Regions from separate parts of the Homo sapiens genome. Here regions 2, 3 and 4 are each linked to region 1. Evidence: promoter capture Hi-C in 16 types of primary human blood cells and fetal thymus (Javierre and others, 2016). All regions are on one chromosome and are shown on one strand. Each heading gives the region's core, a stretch centred on a gene start or on the middle of the fragment in contact. The rest is flanking DNA. Distances are from core to core; before and after follow the strand shown. Region 1 holds the start of DHX40 (DEAH-box helicase 40). Region 2 overlaps GDPD1 (glycerophosphodiester phosphodiesterase domain containing 1). Region 3 holds the start of GDPD1 (glycerophosphodiester phosphodiesterase domain containing 1). Region 4 has its middle 30 kb from the start of YPEL2.

Region 1 (3,532 bases), core at 73-2,572:
TAGGGGAAGGGGGTGTGCCAAGAGAAGCGGGACTATAAAGCAAATACTGGGCAATCATGGAGTACAGAAGTCCTACTGGCCTTTAAAAAGAGGATATTTTTAAAATATTTCCAATTATTACAACAGAAAAAAATCACCTGCTTCATATAGATATTTTGGGAGTTGAGTTGTTTTACCACTTCCTGTATTTCCAGTAACAATAAGGAATGAATTGTCCCTCACAGCTTGAATAATCTTTTTTCTTTGTTTCTGAATAGGAAAAGTTGGAGTAGTTCCTCCCTCCTGGGACGTGCATCCTTTCTCTTCTGTAATAACAGAAAAACAAGTCAATTAAAAGACTTGTAAAGATATCTCTGACTCAATTTCTCATGACTAAAACCAGAAAGGCAATAGAATTTTAGGGCTGGACGGGATCATCCATGACTTCTCAGTTAAATCGCTCATGTAAGTGAGCGTTAATGAGCGCAATTTGTAAGTGAGGGTTAATGAGCCCAGAACAACTTTTTGGTGAAATCCAGCAACTTGAGCATTTGTTCACGCATAACTCAAAGTACTTTTCAAAGCAAGTATAGCTCAAGGCAACGTATACACATGCATACTTACACAGAAGCACAAAACTCAATTTTATTTAACAATAGACCAAAAACTGGAACACAGCAGAAAATTCTCAGCTGGATTAGAAGCCACCTGTGTTTGCTTCTGATTCATGGTTCAAGTTAGGTCCCTGTTCAGAGCGACTGATATCCCAGAAGGCCAAGTGGTGGGTAACCATGGAAACTGGCTCCTGGAAACTGGCTCCCTTCATACTGTACCCAAAGGCAGGCTGGCGGCCCGACGAAGGGTGGGGGGGATGAATGGGTAGAGAACAAAGGGTCTATGAGCCTGTTTAAGAACAGAATGCATTTCGGGCGTTGGGGTTCACTTTTTCGCCCCCCAGTAAGGTTTTCGCCTAACTTGAATCTGGGACCGCCCCCCTCTAAGGCAAAGTGCTCATTGGACGCAAAGTTCGCCTCGGGCTTGGAAAGCCAGGAGAACGCCACGGCTTCCTCACTACTCTTCTCAGCCTGCCAAAGGCGTACTTTCATCCCCCCACCAAAACCCCCACGCCGTAACTCCCGCTGGCTTCCGTACCGTCCCGCGGACCGCACCTCTATCGGCGATGCAAACAGCCGAGAGCCGCTCTTCCTGGAGGTCTCTTGACCGCTCACCCTCCTCCTGCCGCCTTGGCGCCCTGCCCGCGACTGCGGGAAACCGGGACATAGACCTGGCCCCGAGTGGAGGCGAGCACGTCCACCGATCTGAGGAGATGGGAGGGGAAAGACGAGGACGCGCCCTGATGACGTAGAGGTGTTTACTTCCGCGCGTGCGACTTGTAGCAAGGGGAGGGGGAGCTGCTCGATGACGTGGTACGGGGCGGCCGGACCTCGAGCCGAGGCTCCACCCCCCAGGGATTTCCCGCCAACTGCCACGTGCGCTTCGCCTTGGGCGGCTGAGCCATACCTGAGGGCCCGAAGACCCCCTCTTGTTTCGCCTCTCCGGCGCCGAAGGTCGCGACGACACCTCTTTTCAACGCCACAGTGGTCTCTGCAGGCTATTCTGCCTTCACACACTTGACACGATGTAACCCTCTGCCCGGAGCTGGAACCATGATCCCAGAGTGCTGCGTTCCTCAACTCATTCTCACCTTTCCTAATCTGATATGACCTGTCCAAGGCACACAGCTACTGAGTTGTGGAGCCGAACTTTTAGTTATGTTATTATCAAAACTTAGGTCACCAAGGCTGTTCATTTCCCTCATAGGACCCTGCATTTTAATTTATTTGCATGTTTCCTCTTCTGCCCAGCTAGATTGTAAAGCCCCCCCCCACAAGAGTCGAAATATTAAAACACTGCTACATCCAGGGCCCAGCACAGTGATTCAAGGTGGGCTGTCAATATTTGTTGACTTTGCTGGAATGGAGGAATAATAATTGACTTCCTTAGGAATTAAGCTCATTTTTGATAGAGGTGCATTCCTTGGAAACCACAGTAGCTGAAAAGTTCAACAGATACACAGCATCTGAGGCAGGGCAACTTTTTCAGAAAAGGTACTTTGGGGGCAGGTCTTTCTGGTCTAGAGCCTGCCAATTTTTAAATTAGTGTCAACTGTAACAAAATCATTGCAATGTGAACAAGATTGTTTGTTGGACTCCTCAATTGTTCCTGCTGTTAGAATTAGCCAACACTTACTACCAAAGAAGACAACTCAAAACTGTCACTTCACCATCACCTAAAGACCCTCTTGTCTGACCAGGCTTCAAAAGATGTACCATAAGGTTGTTGGGCCCCCAGATTTTTCTGTGCTCATTTGAAGTGAAGTCATGGCCATGCATGGTGGCTCATGCCTGTAATGCCAGCACCTTGGGGGGCCAGGACAGATGAATCACTTGAGATCAGGAGTTCGAGACCGGCCTGGCCAATATGGTGAAACCCCGTCTCTATTAAAAATAAAAAAATAAAAAAAATTAGCCGGGTGTGGTAGCACGCGCCTATAATCCCAGCTACTCGGGAGGCTGAGGCAGGAGAATCGCTTGAACCTAGGAGGCAGGGGTTGCAGTGAGCCAAGATCATGCCACTGCACTCCAGCCTGGGCAACAGAGCGAGATTCCACCTCAAAAAATAAAGTGAACTCATACCAACTGCTTTTAAATGGAACTGATCAACACTTCTTAAAATGCAAGCTCATCAGATTTTGAATGATACCAAATAAGTTGGAACTTTGTAACAACTTTATATCTCAAAACCTGGGTATGAGAGGAAGCAATCTGGTAAATAGGAGAACATTCCAGGTTTCTCTCTTTCATTAGGAGCATCTCCCAGCCTTCTGGATCATGTTAGGAATTCAAAATATTATAGAAACAGAAAGCAAAATGGCAAAAATACATTTGTGGTACAGGCAAGGTATTGGTAATCTCAGTATTTCAGTATAGGGCATCTCTATCAGTGATATAATAAAGTCACTTTCTAAAAATCATCATTTCAGACCAATGATGATTACCACTTAGCTCATAGTAGTCAAATCTTTCTGATACAGTTGACCCTTGAACAATACTGGTTTGAACTTCGCAGGTCCACTTGTAGGCAGATTTTTTCTTCTGCACCTGCTAAGCTGGAGATAGCAAGATCAACCCTTTGTCTTCCTCCTCCTTCTCTTCAGCCTACTGAACAGGATGGAAACCTTTATGATGATCCACTTAAACTTAATGAATAGTAAATATATTTTCTCTTATGATTTTCTTAATGTTTTATTTTCTCTAGCTTGCTTTAAGAATACAGTATATAATACATATACAAAATACGTATTAATTAACTGTTTATGTTATTGGTAAGGCTTCCAGGCAATAGTTGGTATTAACAGTTAAGCTCTGGGGAGTCAAGTAATACAGATTTTGGCCCAATGCAGTGGCTCACACCTGTAATCCTAGCACTTTGGGAGGCCAAGGTGGGCAGATTGCCTGAGTTCAGGAGTTCAAGACCAGCCTGGGCAACATGG
Region 2 (3,484 bases), core at 182-2,681, 290 kb after region 1:
TTCACGCCATTCTCCTGACTCAGCCTCCCGAGTAGCTGGGACTAAGGTGCCCACCACCACGCCCAGCTAATTTTTTGTATTTTTAGTAGAGACGGGGTTTCACCATGTTAGCCAGGATGGTCTCGATCTCCTGACCTCGTGATCCGCCCGCCTCGGCCTCCCATTTTTTTTTTTTTTTTTTTTTTTTGAGACGGAGTCTCACTCTGTCTCCCAGGCTGGAGTGCAGTGGTGCTATCTTGGCTCACTACAGCCTCTGCCTCCCGGGTTCAAGCAATTCTTGTGCCTCAGCCTTAAGAGCTGCTGGGATGACAGACGTGTACCACCACGCATGGTTAATTTTTGTATTTTTGGTAGAGATGGGGTTTTGCCATGTTGGCCAGGCTGGTCTTTAACTCCTGACTTCAGATGATCCGCCTGTCTCAGCCTCCCAAAGTGCTGGGATTACAGGCATGAGCCACCACACTCAGCCCAATGCCAAATGTATCCAATAGTCTTTGATTCCAGAATTACTTATGATAGAACACTGCATCATCTACAGAAATCTTGATCAATAACCTAGATAACCTAGTTTCTAGGTTATTGATCAAGATTTCTGTAGATGATGTAGTATGTACATTTCTGTGTATGTTATTAATCAAGATTTCTGTATAAGATCTAGAAACAAAAATGCACATTAAGAAATTAAAACTTACATCTCATAACCAATTATCTTTCTAAACAATTTACAAACATAAAATATACAATATTATTTAAAATAAATATACATATAATATATAGTTTCTACATTCTCATACAGGCTTAAAAATGAGGTAATAAAAACTGATTAAACCTTTTACCATTCTGGAAATGGCTTAGGGAAATGATCATGAAATATTTTTTTCTTAGGTCTTCATTTTTTCCTTCAATACTTCTAAGTACCTCTTTTTCTATGCTGAAAAGTTATGTAAAAAATCCCTAAGCTTTGTTGGATAGTCTGTCATCACCCCAGTTGCTCCCAAATCAAAAGCTCTTTTGTATTCTTGTTCTTCATTTAATACCCAAATATACACCTGAAAATTAGAAGTGTGAGAAGTATGAGAAGAAATGTTAAAATAGAAAATTATTTTTATAACAGTATTTATCCACTACAGTCTTGGTACATTTAGAAATAACCTTTTAAAGCTATCATTTAAATAAATCATTAGATCCTTTTTTAAAATTCCACTTTGTTCCTTACAGGAATGAGGAGTGTTAAAAAAAAATTCATGGTGCTTGTTAAATATACAGACTCCTGGCTGAGCGCGGTGGCTCACGCCTGTAATTCCAGCACTTTGGGAGGCCAAGGCAGGCAGATCACCTGAGGTCCGGAGTTCGAGATCAGCCTGGCCAACATGGCAAAACCCAGTCTCTACTAAAAATACAAAAATTAGCCAGGTATGGTGGTGCATGCCTATAATCCCAGCTACTTAGGAGGCTGAGGCATGAGAATTGCTTGAACCTGGGAGGTGGAGGTTGCAGTGAGTCAAGACTGCACCACTGCACTCCAGCCTGGGTGACAGAGTGAGACTCCATCTCAAAAAAAAAAAAGAAAAAAGTAAAAAAAGAAATATACATACATATATTTATATATATATACACACACACAAACACTGTCCCACCCCTCTGGCATCAGCTATTCTGTACATAAGAGGAATCTAGATCCAGAAATGCCAATGCTTTATTGCTAAGTGTAAGGAAGAGCTTAAGGTCCTCATTTGTGGATCAGTAAAGCAGCAGCATCAGAGTCAAGGGCCAAACTAAGTCAGTTAAAAGTTCTTGCCCTTTATATTTGTGTTAAACTGGTGAGCTATGCTGCTTCCAAAATGCATCATTCCAGAAACTTACTTGAATGCCTCGAGCAGTTAGGTGGTCAAACAAAGCTTTCCTCATTAGTAAGCTAGAAAAGAAAAAGCAAAACTGATTTAGGAATTTAGTCCTTAGTCCTAATTTAGTCAATTTAGAGTTTAGTAATTCCAGTTTAATTTAATCCCAATGCTTCAGCAATAAAAGAAATGGTCTCAAGTAATAATAGCTGTTGTGAATTAATTTATGTCTTAATTGCTGGATCTCCTTTCACTGCAGGCTGCTGGTTGGTGGACAACCAGAACCTCCTTTCTACTTCTTGCTGCTACCAGATTCATAGGAGACCCATTCTTGTTGGCACAGCTCAATGGAAAAGAGGCTGCCTCATTTTCACTGCTGAAGAAGGAGAAAGAGCTGGCTTTCCTTTCTTACTATTAATGTGTGTTCCTAACTTTCCAAGTTAAAATAAGTCAACAAATGCAGGTCAATTTCTATAACATCATAGTTCATTACACAATGGATTAGTCTTTTGTAAGCGATGTTAGAAGCATTATGTCCATTAATTACACTATCCTATGTCTAGGGAAAAAATATTTTTTTGTTCCAAGTAACTCACTGATAAGTGAACTTTCAAAATACAAACCTCTTGAGCAAGATAGGAATTCATTGCACTGGAAAGACATTATTTCTATTCTGTTATGTCTATTAGAATGATTAAATAACAGAAACTAGAAATCATGTGCTTTTAACACCAATTAACAATGCATCTTGTCAGTTAATAGGGTTGAAAAAAGAAAAAAAATGCATCCTGGTTTTACTTGAGTACAAAAAAAAGGCATCCTTGAAAACTAGAGCTTAAATCAAGAATAAAGCAAAAAAGAATAAACACTGACAGAGAGAAAAGATAAAACTAATTGTTTAAGACTCTTTGAAAAAGGCGTTAAGGCTGGGCGCGGTGGCTCACACCTGTAATCCCAGCACTTTGGGAGGCTGAGGTGGGCAGATCACATGAGGCCAGGAGTTCGAGATCAGCCTGGCCAACATGATGAAACCTCATCTCTACTAAAAAATACAAAAACTAACCAGGCATGGTGGGAGGCACCTATAGTTCCAGCTACTCGGGAGGCTGAGGCAGAAGAATCACTTGAACCCAGGAAGCGGTGAGCCGAGATCACACCACTGCACTCCAGCCTGGGCGACAGAGAAAGACTCCATCTCAAAAAATGAATAAATAAATAAATAAAATAAAATAAAATAAAATAAAATAAAATAAGAAGAAAAGGCGTTAAATAATAAAAAGTTGTGATTTGGGACTATTAAAATATTTAAGCATTCAAGGTTCCATCTTAAAGCAAAATATAGTACAATTATTTAGTGATTTTTACTAAAATTAAACTCATCATGTCTAAATTAAGGCATTTACTTTAAAGTTGATATCCACTCTATAGGTGGGATTTCCTTTCTGCTGTTAAGTCTTGGTGCAGAGCAAATTTTTCTGAGAAATGTGCTGTAGGCAACATACACTTTTATATATACTGTGTTGCTACACTTCTTTTCACCAGCAAGTAAGCTAAAGGGAATGGTTATTTAACCTAGTTCTGCTACTAACTAGCTAGATAACCCCAAGTAAATAATTTAACTGGGTATATGGGGGCTCAGTTTT
Region 3 (3,668 bases), core at 520-3,019, 350 kb after region 1:
GCTTTTCATGAGTGGGAAGGCTAGAATACTATTGAAGTCACTCATTAGAACTATGCTTAACTAATAAAATTATATAGAAGAATGATAATGTACTTCCGTATTTATATTTCAAAACCTTTTTCCTTGGCCAATACTTGTTAGTAAAGTGATTATGGTACTACACCAAGTTTTAGACTGTAAACTCCTAGAAATTATCATTTCAAGTGTGTATTAAATTTCAAGCAAATTTTAAACCGGTTTAAGATTCAGCCTTAAAGAACAGTTAAAATTGATTGAAAATAATCCAATTTCACCGCACTTTATACATCATAGTTGAAATGCAATGAAGACACATTATTACACAATAATGAAGAAGCAAAGATTTGGCCTGTTATCTGGGAAATTAGAGGGTGGACTACCTGGGCTCCTTTTAGCAAAACACTTTTCCAAAAGAAACTTATTTTTGTTTTCTTTAAACAATACTGTCCTGTCCTAAACGAAATCATTTTTAGTCTGTTGAAAATCCACGTGTCTTTGCGTGTTTATTTATTTATTTATTTATTTATTTATTTATTGCAGTGTTCAAAAAAAAAAAAAAAAAGATGCAAGGTTTCCAGCCCTGAGGACCAGGACGCTGTAGCTCCTGTCTCAGTTCAGCCCTAGCTCTAATTGTGACCTTGGGAAATGTCCCTGGCTCGGGGGACTCGGTTTCCCTCTCTTCTCAATTATGAGTGCTCGGAACGTGGGGGTGGGACGGGCCCCCAGCACCGCAGACAAGGGGTTACAGCTCGTCCAGCTTCATGCAAATCCCCAGCCCTCCTCGTCGCCTCGGCTCTTCCCATCCACTCAGCCACTAGCTCGCTCGGAGCAGTGTGCTCCCGGTGCCCCCCGCGGGGTACCCTCGGTTCTGCACGGCGCTCCCCCTTTGTGTCTTGCTGCTAGGAAGGGACCTTGCGATCATCCTTCCATCCGCCGAGAAACGCTCCACCTACCCTTCATTCTCGACCGTGTCTTTCCCGTTTCAGAGAACCCCTCACACTGCTGCCCTCGAGAGACCCCCGCCGTGGCTCTGACCGGGAATCCCTCTCCTTCCCTCCCCTCAGGAGACCTTCCCTTCACACAGCCTTCACCTCCGGAAGAGCCCTCAATTCACACAACCCCATTCTTCCTCAAACTCTCAGGGATTGGCACCCGGCTGCCTTTTGCGGAGCCGCAAAGGACCCTCAGCCTCCCCCACCTCCGTCATCGGGTTCTGGGGACCCCTCTCACCTCCGCGGTGAGAGATGTGTTTACTGAGGAATCGCTGCTTCTTTCTCTGGTGCAGCAAGGTCGGGTATTTAAGCAACAAGAATGAGGTCACCAAGTATCCTCCTAGCGTAGAGAGAAGGTAAAAAGCCGCAGTGGACGACATCTCAGTCACCGTGTGGGAAGTCTCCCACCTCCGGGCCCTCTGAACTCCGCTGCGGCAGTAGCAACGACGGCGGCGGCGGCGGCTGCTCGAGGTCGGCTCGCCCCCAGCCGGTGCCACTGGTGCAGCGCACTTGTCGGTGCCGGCCTACTGCGCACGCGCAGCTGGACCCCAGCGCCCCAGCAACAAAGAGGCTCCGACGCGCAGGCGCTCTCCGGCTCCCGTGTAGGAACCTGCAGAGATCCTGGACTGAGCGTTTGTCACCTAGCTCTGTGGACGGACCCTCATGAAGAGAAAGCTTGCAAACCTGCCAGTGTGTTGGCCATCACTCAAGCAGAAAAGACTATTCACGGGCAGCCTTTCCTAATTGGAAAATCCACATCAAAAAGGAAAGATTCCAGGGCGCGTCTTATCCCTTGCTCTAGAAAATGCAAATAATTTGTACCTATGGAGGCGATAAAGCTTGCTAAAACACTAAATAAACTCCTCCGTTTATCTAGCCTAGAGAGAATTTCCCCTATGGTCGCATATACTAGAAAAGGTACTGGTTTATCAGTCAAATATCTGAGAGATCGGCCCCTGTCCTCCCTCATTTCATTGTGAAAGTGCAATCCTCATTCTTTGTACACAATAGGCACTGTAGAAGTATTTGTTGACTTACAAGTCCGTATAAAATAAGGAAACTTTGTTAAGGTTATAAGGTATTACCTAAAAGTCCTAGAAAGACAGATAACTAAGTTCCAGAAGGCCCTACTAGTTTTCCTTTTACCCGACAAATTACAAACTGCTAACACACGAAAAGCCACACACTTCAATGCAAAAGAAATAAATCACCCAGGACTGAGGGAGAAATTTTACGGAGAAGACCATATCTCCCACAGGACTAGAAAAGCAGAGTGAATATTTAAAATCCTGATTCAGCCGGGCGCGGTGGCCCACGCCTGTAATCCCAGCACTTAGGGAGGCCGGGAAGGAAGGGTGGATCGCTTGAGCCCGGGAGTTCGAGACCAGCCTGGGCAACATGGCGAAACCCCATCTCTACAAAAAATAAAACAAAATAAGCCCGGCGTGGTGGCGTGCACCTGTAGTCACGCTACTTGGGAGGCTGAAGTGGGAGTATTGCTTGAGCCTGGAAAATCGAGGCTGCAGTGAGCTATGACTGCACCACTGCACCCCAGCCTGGGCGACAGAGCAAGACCCTATCTCAACTATAAAAAGAAAATTAGAAGAAAATAGGGGGTGGCTGGGCACGGTGGCTCAAGCCTGTAATCCCAGCACTTTGGGAGGCTGAGGCGGGCAGATCATTTGAAGTCAGGAGCCTGGCCAACATGGCGAAATTCCATCTCTACTAAAAATACAAAAATTTGCCAGGGGTGGTGGCGTGTGCCTGTGATCCCAGCTACTCAGGAGGCCGAGGCAGGAGAATCTCTTGGACCCGGGAGGCAGAGGTTGCAATGAGCCGAGAAGGCGCCACTGCACTCCAGCCTGGGTGACAGAGCGAGACTCCGTCTCAAAAAAAAAAAAAAAAAAAAAAAAAAAAAAAAAAAAAAAAATTCCTTTAGTCGAGGTTGAAGTGAGCCTTGATGGTGCCACTGCACTCCAGCCTGGGCAACAGAGCAACATTCTGAGGAAACTTACAGGTTAAAAAATCATGTGTTCTGTTTAGGGCTGTTAAACTATTTCCTGTAGATCAACTGACGCACATAGTTCTATTTTTCAAAATATCACCTGATGACTATGGAAGCGTCTAGAATAAACCACTGTGGCATAAAAATTATTTTGAGGCTGGGCATGGTGGCTCACGCCTGTAATCCCAGCACTTTGGGAGGCTGAGACAGGCAGATCACCTGAGGTCGGGAGTTCGAGACTAGCCTGGCCATCATGGTGAAACCCCGTATCTACTAAAAATACAAAAATAAGCCAGGCATAGTGGTGCATGCCTGTAGTCCCAGCTACTAGGGAGGCTGAGGCAGGAGAATGGCTTGAACCTGGGAGGCGGAGCTTGCAGTGAGCCAAGATCATGCCACGGCACCCCAGCCTGGGCGACAGAGCAAGACTCTGTCTCTTAAAAAATATATATATATTGAGCTGAAGGCATTTAAGTTCCTGGAATCCCTTATCAACCTAAAATCAAAGGCTCCCAGAAGAACTTAACTGTCATAAATCTCCTCCCTGGGAACAATTCTAATCCTGTCAGAGATGAGAGACATTGTCACAAAAGTATGACATCTCATGGGTATTCTCCTAAGGACACATTTATGTTTCCAAAAAATCATTTCTT
Region 4 (3,396 bases), core at 681-3,180, 260 kb after region 1:
TTTAAGGTGTACAACTTGATGTTTTGATATATGGATATCCAAATAATCACCATAATTAAGCTAATTAATGGATCTATCACCTCTCATAGTTACCATTTCTTTTTTCTTTTGTGGTGAGAATACTTAAGATCTATCCTTTTAGCAAATTGCAAGTATACAGTGCAGTATTGTTAACTAGAGTCATGTGGCTATATATTAGACTTCCAGAACTTATTCATCTTGCATAACTGAAATTTTGTATCCTTTGACCAACGTCTCCTCAATTTCCCCTCCTTGCAGCCCCTGGCAACCACCATTCCACTCTCTTCTACTATTATTTTGACTATTTAATTTTATTTTTAATTGTTTTAGACACAAAGTCTCACTATGTTGCCCAGGTTGGACTCGTACTCTTGGAAACAAGGGATTCTCTTGCCTCAGCCACTGGAGTAGCTGGGACTATAGGTGCATCCCACCACACCTGGCTATTTTATTTTATTTTATTTTATAGTAGGTAAAAAAAATTTTTTTTGAGACAGTCTCGTTCTGTCGCCCAGGCTGGAGTGCAGTGGACCTATCTCGGCTCACTGCAACCTCCTGGGTTCAAGTTATTCTCTTGCCTCAGCCTCCAGAGTAGCTGGGACTACAGACCCGCGCCACCACGTCCGGCTAATTTTTTGTATTTTTAATAGAGACGGGTTTCACCGTGTTAGGCAGGATGGTCTCGATCTCCTGACCTCATGATCCACCCGCCTCAGCTCCCAAAGTGCTGGGATTACAGGCATGAGCCACTGTGCCCGGCAGAAAAATATGTTTGTACTCGCAAAAAGCAGTACCTGATGAATGGTGAACTACGGAAACTCACAGAATTGATTTTGCGTTTGGAAGTATTCATGTGCGATACCCTGCTTTCAAAGGGTTACAGAGGCAAGTTAGTTTGTCTTAGGTGATTTAGACTGCTTTAGATCCACATATAAGTAAGATCATACAGTATTTGTCCTTCTATGTCTGGCTTATTTCACTTAGTATGATGTTCTCCAGATTCAACCATGTTGTCACAAATGGCAGGGTTTCCTTCTTTTTTTTTTTTTTTTTTTTTTTTTTTTGAGACGGAGACTTGCTCTGTTGCCCAGGCTGGGGTGCAGTGGCGCGATCTCGGCTCACTCACTGCAAGCTCCGCCTCCTGGGTTCACGCCATTCTTTTGCCTCAGCCTCCCGAGTAGCTGGAACTACAGGCGCCTGCCACCACACCTGGCTAATTTCTTTTTGTAGTTTTAGTGGAGACGGGGTTTCACTGTGTTAGCCAGGACGGTCTCGATCTCCTGACCTCGCGATCCGCCCATCTCGGCCTCCCAAAGTGCTGGGATTACAGGCGTGAGCCACCGTGCCCAGGCGGTTTCCTTCTTTTTAAAGGCTCCATAATATTCCACTGTATATGTATACCACATTTTCTTTATCAATTTGTCTGTTGATGGACATCTAGGTTGTTTCCATATCTTGGCTATTGTGATAGTGCTGCAATGAACATGGGAGTGTAGCTATCTCTTTGACATGCTGATTTCATGTCCTTTGGATATATATACCCAGAAGTGGGATTGCTGGATCATAAGGTATTCTATTTTTAATTTTTTTAGGAACCTCCATACTATTTTCTGTACTGTTGGCTGTACCTACCCATTTCATTTTTCACATCTACATTCTTGCATTTAAATTCCCCCTCAAACATTATGTTAAGGAATAAACAGGAACAGAAAGTTAAACAACGCGTGATCTCACTCATATGTGGAAGCTAAAAAAAAAAAAAAGGTGATCTCATAGACGTAAAAAGTAGAACAGAGGATGCTATAGGCCAGGAAAGGTAGGAGGAAGGAAGCGATAGAAAGCTAGATAGGAGGAACAACTTCTAGTGTACCACTATAGGATGACTATAGTTAACAGTAACATGTAGTTTCAAGTAGTTAGGAGAAGGATATTGACCGGCCTGGGCAACATAGTGAGAAGAAAAGTAAAGAGAAGAATAGAAGAGAAGAGAAGGGAAGAGAAGAGAAGGAAACGAAGGAGGGAGGGAGGGAGACAGGGAGGGGGAAGGGAGAGGAAGGTAGGGGAGGGAAGAAAAGAAAAAGAAAAAGATAAAAAAAAATTAGCCAGGCACGGTGGCACACACCTGTGGTCCGAGAGGCTGAGGCGGGAGGATCGCTTGAGCCTGGGAGGTCAAGACTGCAGTTAGCTATAATTATGCTACTGCACTGCAGCCTGGGTGACAAAGCAAGACCATGTCTCACAAAAAAGGATATTGAGCATTCTCAACACAAAGAAAGGATAACTGTTTGAGATGATGGATATGCTAATATCCTCACCTGATCGCTATACATTATATGTATTGAAACATCATTATGTCCTGTGTGAAACACAAGTGATAGAAAACAATGTTTTAAAAAGGAAAAAAAGGTAACATTACTATGTGCTGCATGAATATGTACAATTATTGTCAATTAAACACATAAATAAAATAAATTCCACCTTAAGACAAATTTATTTTTGTTGTATATTCCTTATCCTCTCCTTGTATTTTATCTTTCAAATCAAAAAGAGCATTTTAGATCCGGAGGGACCATTTCCTCTACCTGCATATGTCACCCTGTAAATATCACATTTTTTTTTTGTTTTGATTTGTTTCACTTTGTTTTGAGACGGAGTCTCGCTCTTGTTACCCGGGCTGGAGTGCGTTGGTGCAATCTCGGCTCACCACAACCTCTGCCTCCCAGGTTCAAGAGATCCTCCTGCCTCAGCCTCCCGAGTAGCTGGGATTACAGGCATGCACCACCACACCTGTCTAATTTTGTATTTTTAGTAGAGACGGAGTTTCTCCATGTTGGTCAGGCTGGTCTCGAACCCCTGACCTCAGGTGACCTGTCCGCCTTGGCCTCCCAAAGTGCTGGGATTACAGGTATGAGCCACTGTGCCCAGCACTATCACATTTCTTAAGATTTGCTTTCCTAATTCTGTCTGATTCCAGGGTCAAAGTCCTTGACTATAGCACAAGCAGTTTAGCTTAGGAAGACCATGGCTTATTCATTTTCCTCTTCCTCCACTCTACTGCCTTCTTAGCTTTGGGCTTAGAAGTCAACCAATAAAATCTCAGTGCCTGCAACACATGGATTGATATCATTGTCCCCAAACCCATTTTGCAATCTGTGATCAACTTTTAAATTAGTCATAGTGCTTATTATCAGGAAAGGGGAGTATTTCATGTCCAGACAAAAACTAATTTGTAAGTGGATCCACAGCTGAAGCTGCAATATAACAATTCATTTATTTAACAAATATTTATTGAGACCTTCTATGTGCCAAGCATTGTTCTAAGCTCTGAGATAAGGCAGTAGCCAAAACAAATTCCTTATGGTTATGGACTTATAT

Evidence for each region. The method cuts DNA at HindIII sites, captures the fragments that hold promoters and counts their contacts. A CHiCAGO score of 5 or more calls a contact.
Region 2: a contact is called between a fragment that was not itself captured here and the fragment with the promoter of DHX40 in region 1, in 1 of 17 cell types (M2 macrophages). The highest score is 5.6, in M2 macrophages.
Region 3: a fragment that was not itself captured here is called in contact with the fragment with the promoter of DHX40 in region 1 in 2 of 17 cell types (endothelial precursors and M0 macrophages); the score reaches 6.1 in endothelial precursors.
Region 4: a fragment that was not itself captured here is called in contact with the fragment with the promoter of DHX40 in region 1 in 1 of 17 cell types (M0 macrophages); the score reaches 5.8 in M0 macrophages.

The regions. Positions count from the first base shown.
Region 1 is chr17:59,563,400-59,566,931 of GRCh38, reverse strand. DHX40 (DEAH-box helicase 40) reads right to left here and starts at 1,322. Exons shown (of 18, transcript NM_024612.5): 1 at 1,149-1,322; 2 at 138-305. The coding sequence starts at 1,260. RefSeq lists a silencer at 684-813 and enhancers at 1,224-1,483, 1,099-1,641. The HindIII fragment of the contact is 14,558 bases long and covers 1-3,532 here.
Region 2 is chr17:59,271,216-59,274,699 of GRCh38, reverse strand. GDPD1 (glycerophosphodiester phosphodiesterase domain containing 1) reads right to left here. Exons shown (of 10, transcript NM_182569.4): 9 at 1,864-1,915; 10 at 1-1,049. The coding sequence ends at 927. Among named protein-coding and RNA genes, the nearest start is that of GDPD1, 52 kb to the right of the region's middle. The HindIII fragment of the contact is 939 bases long and covers 962-1,900 here.
Region 3 is chr17:59,218,332-59,221,999 of GRCh38, reverse strand. It overlaps GDPD1 (glycerophosphodiester phosphodiesterase domain containing 1), which reads right to left and starts at 1,489. Exons shown (of 10, transcript NM_182569.4): 1 at 1,249-1,489. The coding sequence starts at 1,390. RefSeq lists an enhancer at 913-1,463. The HindIII fragment of the contact is 164 bases long and covers 1,688-1,851 here.
Region 4 is chr17:59,299,542-59,302,937 of GRCh38, reverse strand. No RefSeq gene overlaps it. Among named protein-coding and RNA genes, the nearest start is that of YPEL2, 30 kb to the left of the region's middle. The HindIII fragment of the contact is 4,395 bases long and covers 1-3,396 here.